Linked DNA regions of Homo sapiens: regions 1 and 2 are each linked to region 3. The links are contacts of gene promoters, found by promoter capture Hi-C in human tissues and cell types (Jung and others, 2019). All regions are on one chromosome and are shown on one strand. Each heading gives the region's core, a stretch centred on a gene start or on the middle of the fragment in contact. The rest is flanking DNA. Distances are from core to core; before and after follow the strand shown.

Region 1 (2,869 bases), core at 78-2,577, 520 kb after region 3:
AAAAAAAAAAACTTCGGACGCCGGGGGTCTGGTCTTCTCCACAGGAGCGCAAAATGCATCTGCGTCCTTTCTGGAAGCTTCTACGCCCCAAGCCGCCAGCAGTATTCCCGGGACCTGTCAGGCGCCCTTAGGAAAGCAGGATCGGGGGGAAGGAACCCCCTGCTCCCGGCTGCGTATCGGCCCCCGCGCCCATCCTCACCTTCTTGATATGAGCCGCAATGTCCTTCTCTATGTTGTATTTCTCCAGCGCCTGAGTAGCGCACTCCACCGAGTCCTGTTGCATCTCTTCCGACATGTCCGCATTTTTGATCACGGCCTTTCGGTCGCACATGGTTACCTAGTGGGCAAGGCCTGGGGTAAGGGGTTGAGTTGGGCCGCGCCCCCCAGGCACTAACTGCCCCCACCCCGGCCGGCGCCACCACGGGACGACGCCCCCCACCCCACTTCTCAGGAAGCGCGGGCTACGCGGAGGGCTAAGTCCGGAGTGGGGCGAAATAAGGCAGCGAGGACACCCCCTGGCCCCCCGAGTTTCTCACCGTGGAGAAGGGGGCTGGCCGACTGCAACGGTCTCCTGGGGGAGGTGCTAGCACAGCTCAGGCCCGGCTAGAGATACCGTCGCTACCGAAACCGTGGCGCATCTAAGCAGCCCCACGCCAGCCGCCGCCGCCTAGTGCTCAGGCCCCGCCCTGCTCCCGCCGGCCCCGCCCCTCGCCGCGCGACCCTATTGGCTTGACGCAGCCCACGGCATTCTTCCATTGGTCCATTGACTCCATGGTTCCCTCAGGATCTTTCTCCTGCATTTTGTTGCAGACCACAATGCACCGCTCACGGCGTCGGTTGCCCGGGCAATGGGCCGCACGCTACGAGGCCCACACACCCAGAAGGTGGAGCCCCGGCCGGGTTACGAGGACCACCCAGCTGTCTGGAGAGGTAGGAAGGGAGCTTCTGCCGGGGCCAAGGGAAGTGATTCCAAATTCACGGAGGTTGTCCCAGGGTGTGTTCTCGAACAACAGTCTCTAGAAGTTGGTGGCCATTCCTGCCCCCACCCCCCCGCCCCCCCACCACGACAGGTCGCATGATCTCGCACCCCAGGTTAGCAGGATTACGACAGAGGTGGCCTCTCCCTTTACTGAAAGGGTATCTCTGAAGCAGGGCCGGCTTCGTGGGTAAACCAGCAGTGCAGTCTCACAGGAGGGACCCTTACGTTTTCATTTTGCACTGGGCCCCATTTGTAGTCGGTTCTGCTCTGAAATATTTAGGGGAGGGCATCCTCAGGATTGAGGGAGGGCTTCAAGGAGGGAGGGTGTTTCCTTACGAATTAAGGGATTATCCCCAAGAGTGGGGTCTCTGCCAAGCAATGCGGACATCCTTTAAGGGGTTGGGGATGGGGATCCGGGTGGATTTGGGAGTGTTGAGCCCCGGGGTTTTTGTCCAGGGTGAAGCTTCTTGCTCAGGTGAGGCAGTCTTTCCTGTGTGGGAGAGATTCTTGGTTGGGATTTATCTCTGAGGAGGAGGTATTCTAATGGACGAAAAAGCGGCCGTTAGAGAGATGACGTCCCCTCTGGCTTAGGGAGGAGACACGAAGTGGTTAAAAAAGCAAGATCTTGGGGGAGTTGAGGGACAAGTCAGATCTGGATTTAAATCCCAGCACTGTCATTTACTAGCTATTTGAATGTCTTCTTTAAGTAAAGGAGGACTAAATGTAAAAGGAAACCAGTTCATACGCTTGTTAGCAGTATTAAACATTTGAAGTTCTCTCAGCACAATGTGAGGCACATAGTAAATGATCAATGAATCTTATCAATAATTGTCAGTTTATACAACTATCCCAAAGGCCACAGCAAGGTTTTGAACAACCAGCTCTGAAATGCCTATAATGTATTTTTCGAACCTCCATAAATAAGTTATCAGGTTAATCATGTATCTGGAAGCTTCCTATTTACATTTCTACATTTTCCTCTGACCATCTACTCTCATTACTCCTTAAAACAATTTGTGGCTGGGCATGATGGCTCACACCTGTAATCCCAGCACTTTGAGAAGCCGAGTCAAGGGGATCGCTTGAGCTCAGTAGTTGGAGACCAGCCTGGGCAATATGGCCAAACCCCATCTCAAAAAATAAAAATAAAACAATTTGAGCAGAGGCACACAACTCCAGAAAGAAAAAGATGGGAATAGGCCGGGTGCGGTGGCTCATGCCTATAATCCCAGCACTTTGGGAGGCCGAGGCGGGTGGATGACCTGAGGTAAGGAGTTTGAGACCAGCCTGATCAACATGGAGAAACCCCATCTCTACTAAAAATACAAAATTAGCTGGGCATGGTGGCACGTGCCTGTAATCCCACCTACTCAGGAGGCTGAGGCAGGAGAATCACTTGAACCCGGGACACAGAGTCTGTAGTGAGCCGAGATCGCGCCATTGCACTCCAGCCTGGGCAACTCCGTCTCAAAAAAAAAAAAAAGGAAAAAAATGGCAATAATTAGAACCTTTTCAGGTTCAACATATGCATATCAATTAAATCAACAGCTTTTTCCAGTTCCATGTTTCTAATGATGAGATTCAGGGTTTGAGGAGTTATAATATTACTATAGTACCTCTCTTGAGGAAGAAATAGGTTGACAACAAGTGAGGACCCTGGAAATGCAAATGACACTAAAGTAAAGCCACGGTGACTCCACTAAGTAGAAACCCCAGGGAAATTTCCTAAATCATCCTCATGATTTTTTTCCATATCTACACTACACTACCCCTGTTATTATTTATTTAATTTTTACTATAATAATACTATCATCATAATATAGTAATGTAATTGTTCATTAATAATACCTTATATGGCCGGGTGTGGTGGCTCACGCCTGTAATCCCAGC
Region 2 (2,922 bases), core at 36-2,535, 590 kb after region 3:
CCTCTCTAAGCCTCAGTTTTCTCATCTGCAAAATGGAGATGATAATAACCATGGCTGCGTCACAGGGCTGTAAAGAGATTACATGAGATAAAGCTTTTAGCACAGTGCCTGACCCAGAGCCAATATCCCAAAACTTCTGGATCCTATTATTATTACTATTATCATTATTACAACTATTAACACCAGGGCTGGAAGGGATCTCAGATCCTCAAATTCAGGGGCTCCCTACATAGGGTTCAGTGGATCACCCCCTCCCAAGGGATCCACAGTAGGGGTTCAGGAGGGTGGTCTGTGTGCATCTGGAAATAGAGTACAATATTGTGTCTGCTCATTTTCCTAAGGATGAGAAACTTAGCTGTCAACAAGTAAAAAATGGGGAAACTGAGTCCAGAGAGGGCGAAGGGGTCTTGCTCCAAGTTTCTCCCTTTATTCATTCATTTATTCATTCACTTTTTGTTTTTTTTTTGGTTGTTGTTGGTTTTTTTTTTTTTTTTTTTTTTTTTTGAGACAGAGTCTCGCTCTGTCTCCCAGGCTGGAGTGCAGTCGCGCGATCTCGGCTCACTGCAAGCTCCACCTCCTGGGTTCATGCCATTCTCCTGCCTCAACCTCGCGAGTAGCTGGGACTACAGGCACCCGCCACAATACCTGGCTAATTTTTTTTTGTATTTTTAGTAGAGACGGGGTTTCACCATGTTAACCAGGATGGTCTTGATCTCCTGACCTCGCGATCTGCCCACCTCAGCCTCCTAAAGTGCTAGGATTACAGGCGTGAGCCACCGTGTTGTTGTTGAGATGGAGTTTCGCTCTTGTTGCCCAGGCTGGAGTGCAATGGTGACATCTCAGCTCACTGCAACCTCTGCCTCCTGGATTCAAGCGATTGTCCTGCCTTAGCCTCCCGAGTAGCTGGGATTACAGGCATGCACCATCACGCCCTGCTAATTTTGTGTTTTTAGTAGAGACGGGGTTTCACTATCTTGGCCAGGCTGGTCTTGAACTCCTGACTTCGTGATCCACCCGCCTTGGCCTCCCAAAGTGCTGAGATTACAGGCGTGAGCCACTGTGCCTGGCCTCCTTCACTTCTTATTTCTTCAACCCAGCACCAAATCTTTCCCCAGGGCCTACATTGGCCCAGGATCACAGATGAACCAGACATGGTCAACTTCTTAGTCTCTACTCCTTACCTCCTTCCCCCGCCCCAGGGGATCTTCCTCCACAAAAGGTAGAGTTTAGTGTTTTCATTATAGTTCCTTTGTCAACACCATGCCCTGGGGCTAATTAGGCACTTCATCAAGTAACTCTAAATTCTTGCCCCAGTTGAATGCCTTACTTACCTCTACTTGGAACCTTCATTTCTCCTCTCTGAGCCTCAGTTTCCCAACCTATAGAAAGGGGGTAATAAAAGCCTTCTGCCTGGGGTTGCAAGAATTAAATAAAATAGAATTGAAAGTGCTTTATAAGCTGCAAAGTGTGGTGCCGATATTAGTATTATGGTCTGGAGAGAGAAGAAATCAAAATTGATAAATAATTGAGAACTGCACAATCTCCTCTCTCTCTCTCTCTCTCTTTTTTTTTTTTTTTCTGGACGGAGTCCCGCTCTGTTGCCCAGGCTGGAGTGCAGTGGCACGATCTTGGCTCACTGCTACCTCCGCCTCCTGGGTTCAAGCAATTCTCCTGTCTTAGCCTCTCAAGTAGCTGGGATTACAGGTGCCCGCCACCATAACCGGCTAATTTTTGTATTTTTTAGTAAAGACGGAGTTTCACCATGTTGGACAGGCTGGTCTTGAACTCCTGACTTTAGGTGATCCGCCCGCCTCAGCCTCCCAAAGTGCTGGGATTACAGGCATGAGTCACGGCTCCCAGTAGTTTATTTTTTGAGACAGAGTCTCACTGTGTTGCCCAGGCTGGAGAGCAGTGGCAGATCTTGGCTCACTGCAACCTCCGCCTCCCAGGTTCAAGCAATTCTCCTGTCTCAGCATCCCGAGTAGCTGGGATTACAGGCACCCGCCACCATGCCCGGCCAAGTTTTGTATTTTTAGTAGAGATGAGGTTTCACTATGTTGGCCAGGCTGGTCTCAAACTCCTGACCTCAGGTGATGCACCCACCTCAGCCTCCCAAAGTGCTGGGATTACAGGCAGGAACCACCGCACCTGGCTTCTTTTCTTTTTAATTAAGCTTTATTGGCCAGGCATGGTGGCTCATGCCTGTAATCCTAGCACTTTGGGAGGCCAAGGCAGGAGGATTGCTTGAGCCCGGGAGGTCAAGATCAGCCTGGGCAACATAGTGAGACCCACGTCTCTACAAAAAATACAAAAGTTAGCCAGGCATGGTGGTGCACACCTGTAGTCTCAGCTACTCGGAAGGTGGAGGCAGGAGGATCACAGGAGCTCAGGAGGTCAATGCTGAATAAGCCATGATTGCGTCACTGCACTCCAGCCTGGACAACAGAGTGAGACCCTGTCTTTTTTTTTTTTTTTTTTTTTTGAGACGGAGTCTCGCTCTGTTGCCGAGGCTTGAGTGCAGTGGCGCGATCTCGGCTCACTGCAAGCTCCGCCTTCCGGGTTCACACCATTCTCCTGCCTCAGCCTCCCGAGTAGCTGGGACTACAGGCGCCCGCCACCACGCCTGACTAATTTTGTTTTTGTATTTTTAGTAGAGATGGGGTTTCACCGTGTTAGCCAGGATGGTCTCCATCTCCTGACCTTGGGATCCGCCCACCTCAGTCTCCCAAAGTACTGGGATTACAGGCGTGAGCCACCATGCCCAGCCGAGACCCTGTCTTAATAAACAAACAAGCAAACAAAAACTTTATTTTTTGGAGCAGTTTTAGGTTCACAGCAATATTAAGCAGAAGGTACAGAGATTTCCTATATATCTCTCTCCTCTCCAGACACAGGCACAGCTTCCCCCATTATCAACGTACC
Region 3 (3,178 bases), core at 76-2,575:
TCTCAAATTGCAATTCCTTGCAATTCTGGAATAAACGCTTTATTTTGGAGAGTCAGTCTCTCTGTTATTTATTTTATGGTGTCAATTTTAACATATGAATTTTGGAGGAACACATTCAGACCATATCAGTCACCTTCCTCTTCTTTGAAATAGAAAAAGCTCAAGGCCAGAGAGTTTATTTTAGTAAAGTTTTGACATACCTGTCTTCAAAGATAAAACATGAAACAGCATTCCACACACAAAAGTAAAGTGATTTTGTTCATCCTTCACTGTGAGGTATTTTAACCACAGAGATTCTAATTTTTTGGTCTTGGATGGGTCCTGGGAGTCAGTATTGCCTGGCTAATTTTTGTATTTTTAGTAGAGATGGGGTTTCACCATGTTGGTCAGGCTAGTCTCGAACTCCTGACCTCATGATCTGCCCGCCTCGGCCTCACAAAGTGTTGGGATTACAGATGTGAGCCACCGTGCCCGGACAGGATTCTGCATTTCTCTTTTTTTTTTTTCGAGACAGAGTCTCAGTCTGTTGCCCAGGCTGGAGTGCAGTGGCACGATCTTGGCTCACCTCAACCTCCACCTCCCAGGTTCAAGTGATTTTCCTGCCTCAGCCTCCTGAGTAGCTGGGACTACAGGTGCGTGCCACCATGCCCAGCTAATTTTTGTATTTTTAGTAGAGATGGGGTTTCACTATGTTGGCCAGGCTGGTCTCGAACTCCTGACCTTGTGATCTGCCTGCCTCAGCCCCCCAAAGTGTTGGGATTACAGGCGTGAGCCACCGTGCCCAGCCTGGATTCTGCATTTCTAACGAGCTCCCAGGTGTTACCAATGCTGCTGGCTCATGGACTACACTCTTAAGTAGTAAGGCCCTAGGCTATTAAAGGAAATACAGATTCCTGGATTCCACCTATCAGAGATTCTGATTCTGTTAGTATTTTCTGTGAGACCCAAAAGTCTGCAGTTTAACCAGCTCTCTAAGGTGTTTCTTAGGCCCAGCTGGACTGGGAAATTACTAGAATAAATGACATGGAATCAAAACCTGGGAACTAATCCTGGGTCTGTCATTAACTCCTTAGGAGATTCCCATCCCCTCTGGAGATCTGTCATCAAGAAATGATTGGAGAAGTTAATCTCTTAGGCCCTTCTAGCTCTTGCCTTTGAGAACCGCCCACCTCCCCATTCCCACCTGGTATCCCCAACCCAGTACAGTTCATGGCCAATGGCGGTCCAAGTCTTGGAACTACAATCCCCACAATGCCTCGCGCCTCTCCTCTCACGTGACGTCATGAAGGAGGCTTGATAACGGCGGTGTTCTCCACAATCCTTTGCGGTGGTTCAAGATGGCGGCGCCCAGTGGCACAGTGAGCGATTCGGAAAGTAGTAACAGCAGTAGCGATGCGGAGGAGCTGGAGCGGTGCCGCGAGGCGGCAATGCCGGCTTGGGGCTTGGAGCAACGCCCGCACGTGGCAGGGAAGCCAAGAGCCGGTAGGGTACTATGTTTGGGGAGACTGGCTGAGGGGCGTGGGATCTTCCCCTGGAGCCTGAGAGGATGGATGGTGAGGAGAGAGTCACTGGGACTCGGCTTCCTTCCCCGAGAGACCTCCAGGGACTGGGTGTAGTGCAGATTGAAAGCATGGGCAGGTGCAGTAGGGAGGGTATTTCATTATTCCAGTCGGGGAAGCTGAGGTACCCAAATGTCTTTTGATTCTGCCTCCTTGGGTCTATCCTCACTGCCCCACACTGGGAAGGCTGCCGTCTCTTCGAGATAACTGCAACAGCCCCCTCCCGGTATTCTCGCACCCAGCCTTTCCCCACCTCCAACACATTCTCCCACCCTGGAGGTTGTTGCCAAGAGCAGTGCCCAGCACATCACTCTGACCGTGACTCCCTAGTGCCCTGGGAATAAATACAGAGCCCCGCAACATCAAGGGGCCTAATCATGGATAGAACCCAAGGGTTCTTGAATTTGGAATGAAAACATGTTGCATCTTTGCTTTCTATTCATCTCTGACTGAATTTTAGCATCTCTTTCCGTCTTGCAAGCACTAAGCCACAGTAGTTCTGGCAATGCCGTTACTTTATCCCAACAGAAGTCACAGATTTTCATATCTCATTACAATCTTTGCAGATACAGATATCAATATATCATTTTATTGATAAAAAGATATTGGGGAAAAAAGTCATTTACACTCATCCCTGATTTAAAATGTGCCACTCTAATTTTTAGACCCATCTCTATATCTAAGATGTAAGAAGCACATACATCACAAGTTTGGTTGTTTACTATCATGATAATTAAATTTCGGTATCATTGGTTTTCTTTGTAATCCTGTATGTTGCATTTCATGCATTTAAAACATTGCTCTGAGAAGAGAACCGGGCTTCACCAGGCTGTTAGAGAAGGCTATGGCAAAGCAAGGTTAAGAACCGCTGGATTTGTTTAAAAGGACTTACAAGCCCTTTGGTGATCCATTGCCTTCCTCTCCCTTCCTTCCCTCCTGCCATACTGCACTTCCTGTAGGTAGCTTCCAGACCATAGTCTGCCCCTCTCACCCCCTAGTACCATAACCACAGTTTTCTCTGCAAGTTCTATTTACAGATCTGCCTTTCCATCTCATTAGCGGTGGGAACTTGAGCAAAGTACTTAAATCTCACTGTACCTAAATTTCCTCATCTGTACAGTGCGGGTAGTGATAGTACCCACCCCATAAGGTTGAGAAGTAACTGAGATAATGCAATCTACAGTGCTTGGCACATCTTAAAGGCCCAATACATGGTGGCAAATATGTGGTTGGTCTTTCCACATGGACTGCTTTCCTCCTCCTGCCTAATTCTCGCTCTTTTTTTTTTCAAAACTAGGACTCAGTCTGTTACCGAGGCTGACACAATCATGGCTCACTGCAACCTCGACCTCCCCCTACTCAGATGATCCTCCCACCTCAGCCTCCCAAGTAGCTGAGACTACAGATGTATAGTCCCAGCTACTTTTTGTATTTTTTGTAGAGATGGGGTTTTGCCATGTTGCCCAGGCTGGTCTCGAACTCCTGGGCTCAAGTGATCCTCCCTTCTCAACCTTCAAAGTGCTGAGATTACAGGTGTGAGCCACTGTGCTCGGCTTCTAGTTTTTTTTGTTTGTTTGTTTGTTTTTTGGGGTTTTTTTTTTTTTTTTGCATTTTTTTTT

The links. The method cuts DNA at HindIII sites, captures the fragments that hold promoters and counts their contacts. A contact is called where the count stands out against the background at its distance.
Region 1: a contact is called between a fragment that was not itself captured here and the fragment with the promoter of C12orf43 in region 3, in 2 of the 25 tissues and cell types used here (IMR-90 fibroblasts and dorsolateral prefrontal cortex).
Region 2: a contact is called between a fragment that was not itself captured here and the fragment with the promoter of C12orf43 in region 3, in 1 of the 25 tissues and cell types used here (lymphoblastoid cells).

What each region holds. Positions count from the first base shown.
Region 1 is chr12:120,493,884-120,496,752 of GRCh38, reverse strand. It overlaps DYNLL1 (dynein light chain LC8-type 1), which reads right to left and starts at 640. Exons shown (of 3, transcript NM_003746.3): 1 at 537-640; 2 at 200-337. The coding sequence starts at 331. NRAV (negative regulator of antiviral response) reads left to right here and starts at 807. Exons shown (of 2, transcript NR_038854.1): 1 at 807-930. RefSeq lists silencers at 237-756, 1,047-1,096 and an enhancer at 316-982. The HindIII fragment of the contact is 4,647 bases long and covers 1-2,869 here.
Region 2 is chr12:120,420,183-120,423,104 of GRCh38, reverse strand. No RefSeq gene overlaps it. Among named protein-coding and RNA genes, the nearest start is that of COX6A1, 16 kb to the left of the region's middle. The HindIII fragment of the contact is 4,053 bases long and covers 1-2,922 here.
Region 3 is chr12:121,014,634-121,017,811 of GRCh38, reverse strand. It overlaps C12orf43 (chromosome 12 open reading frame 43), which reads left to right and starts at 1,325. Exons shown (of 6, transcript NM_022895.3): 1 at 1,325-1,482. The coding sequence starts at 1,338. It also overlaps a transcript of OASL not described here. RefSeq lists a silencer at 1,229-1,422 and enhancers at 1,150-1,659, 1,631-2,146. The HindIII fragment of the contact is 5,444 bases long and covers 1-3,178 here.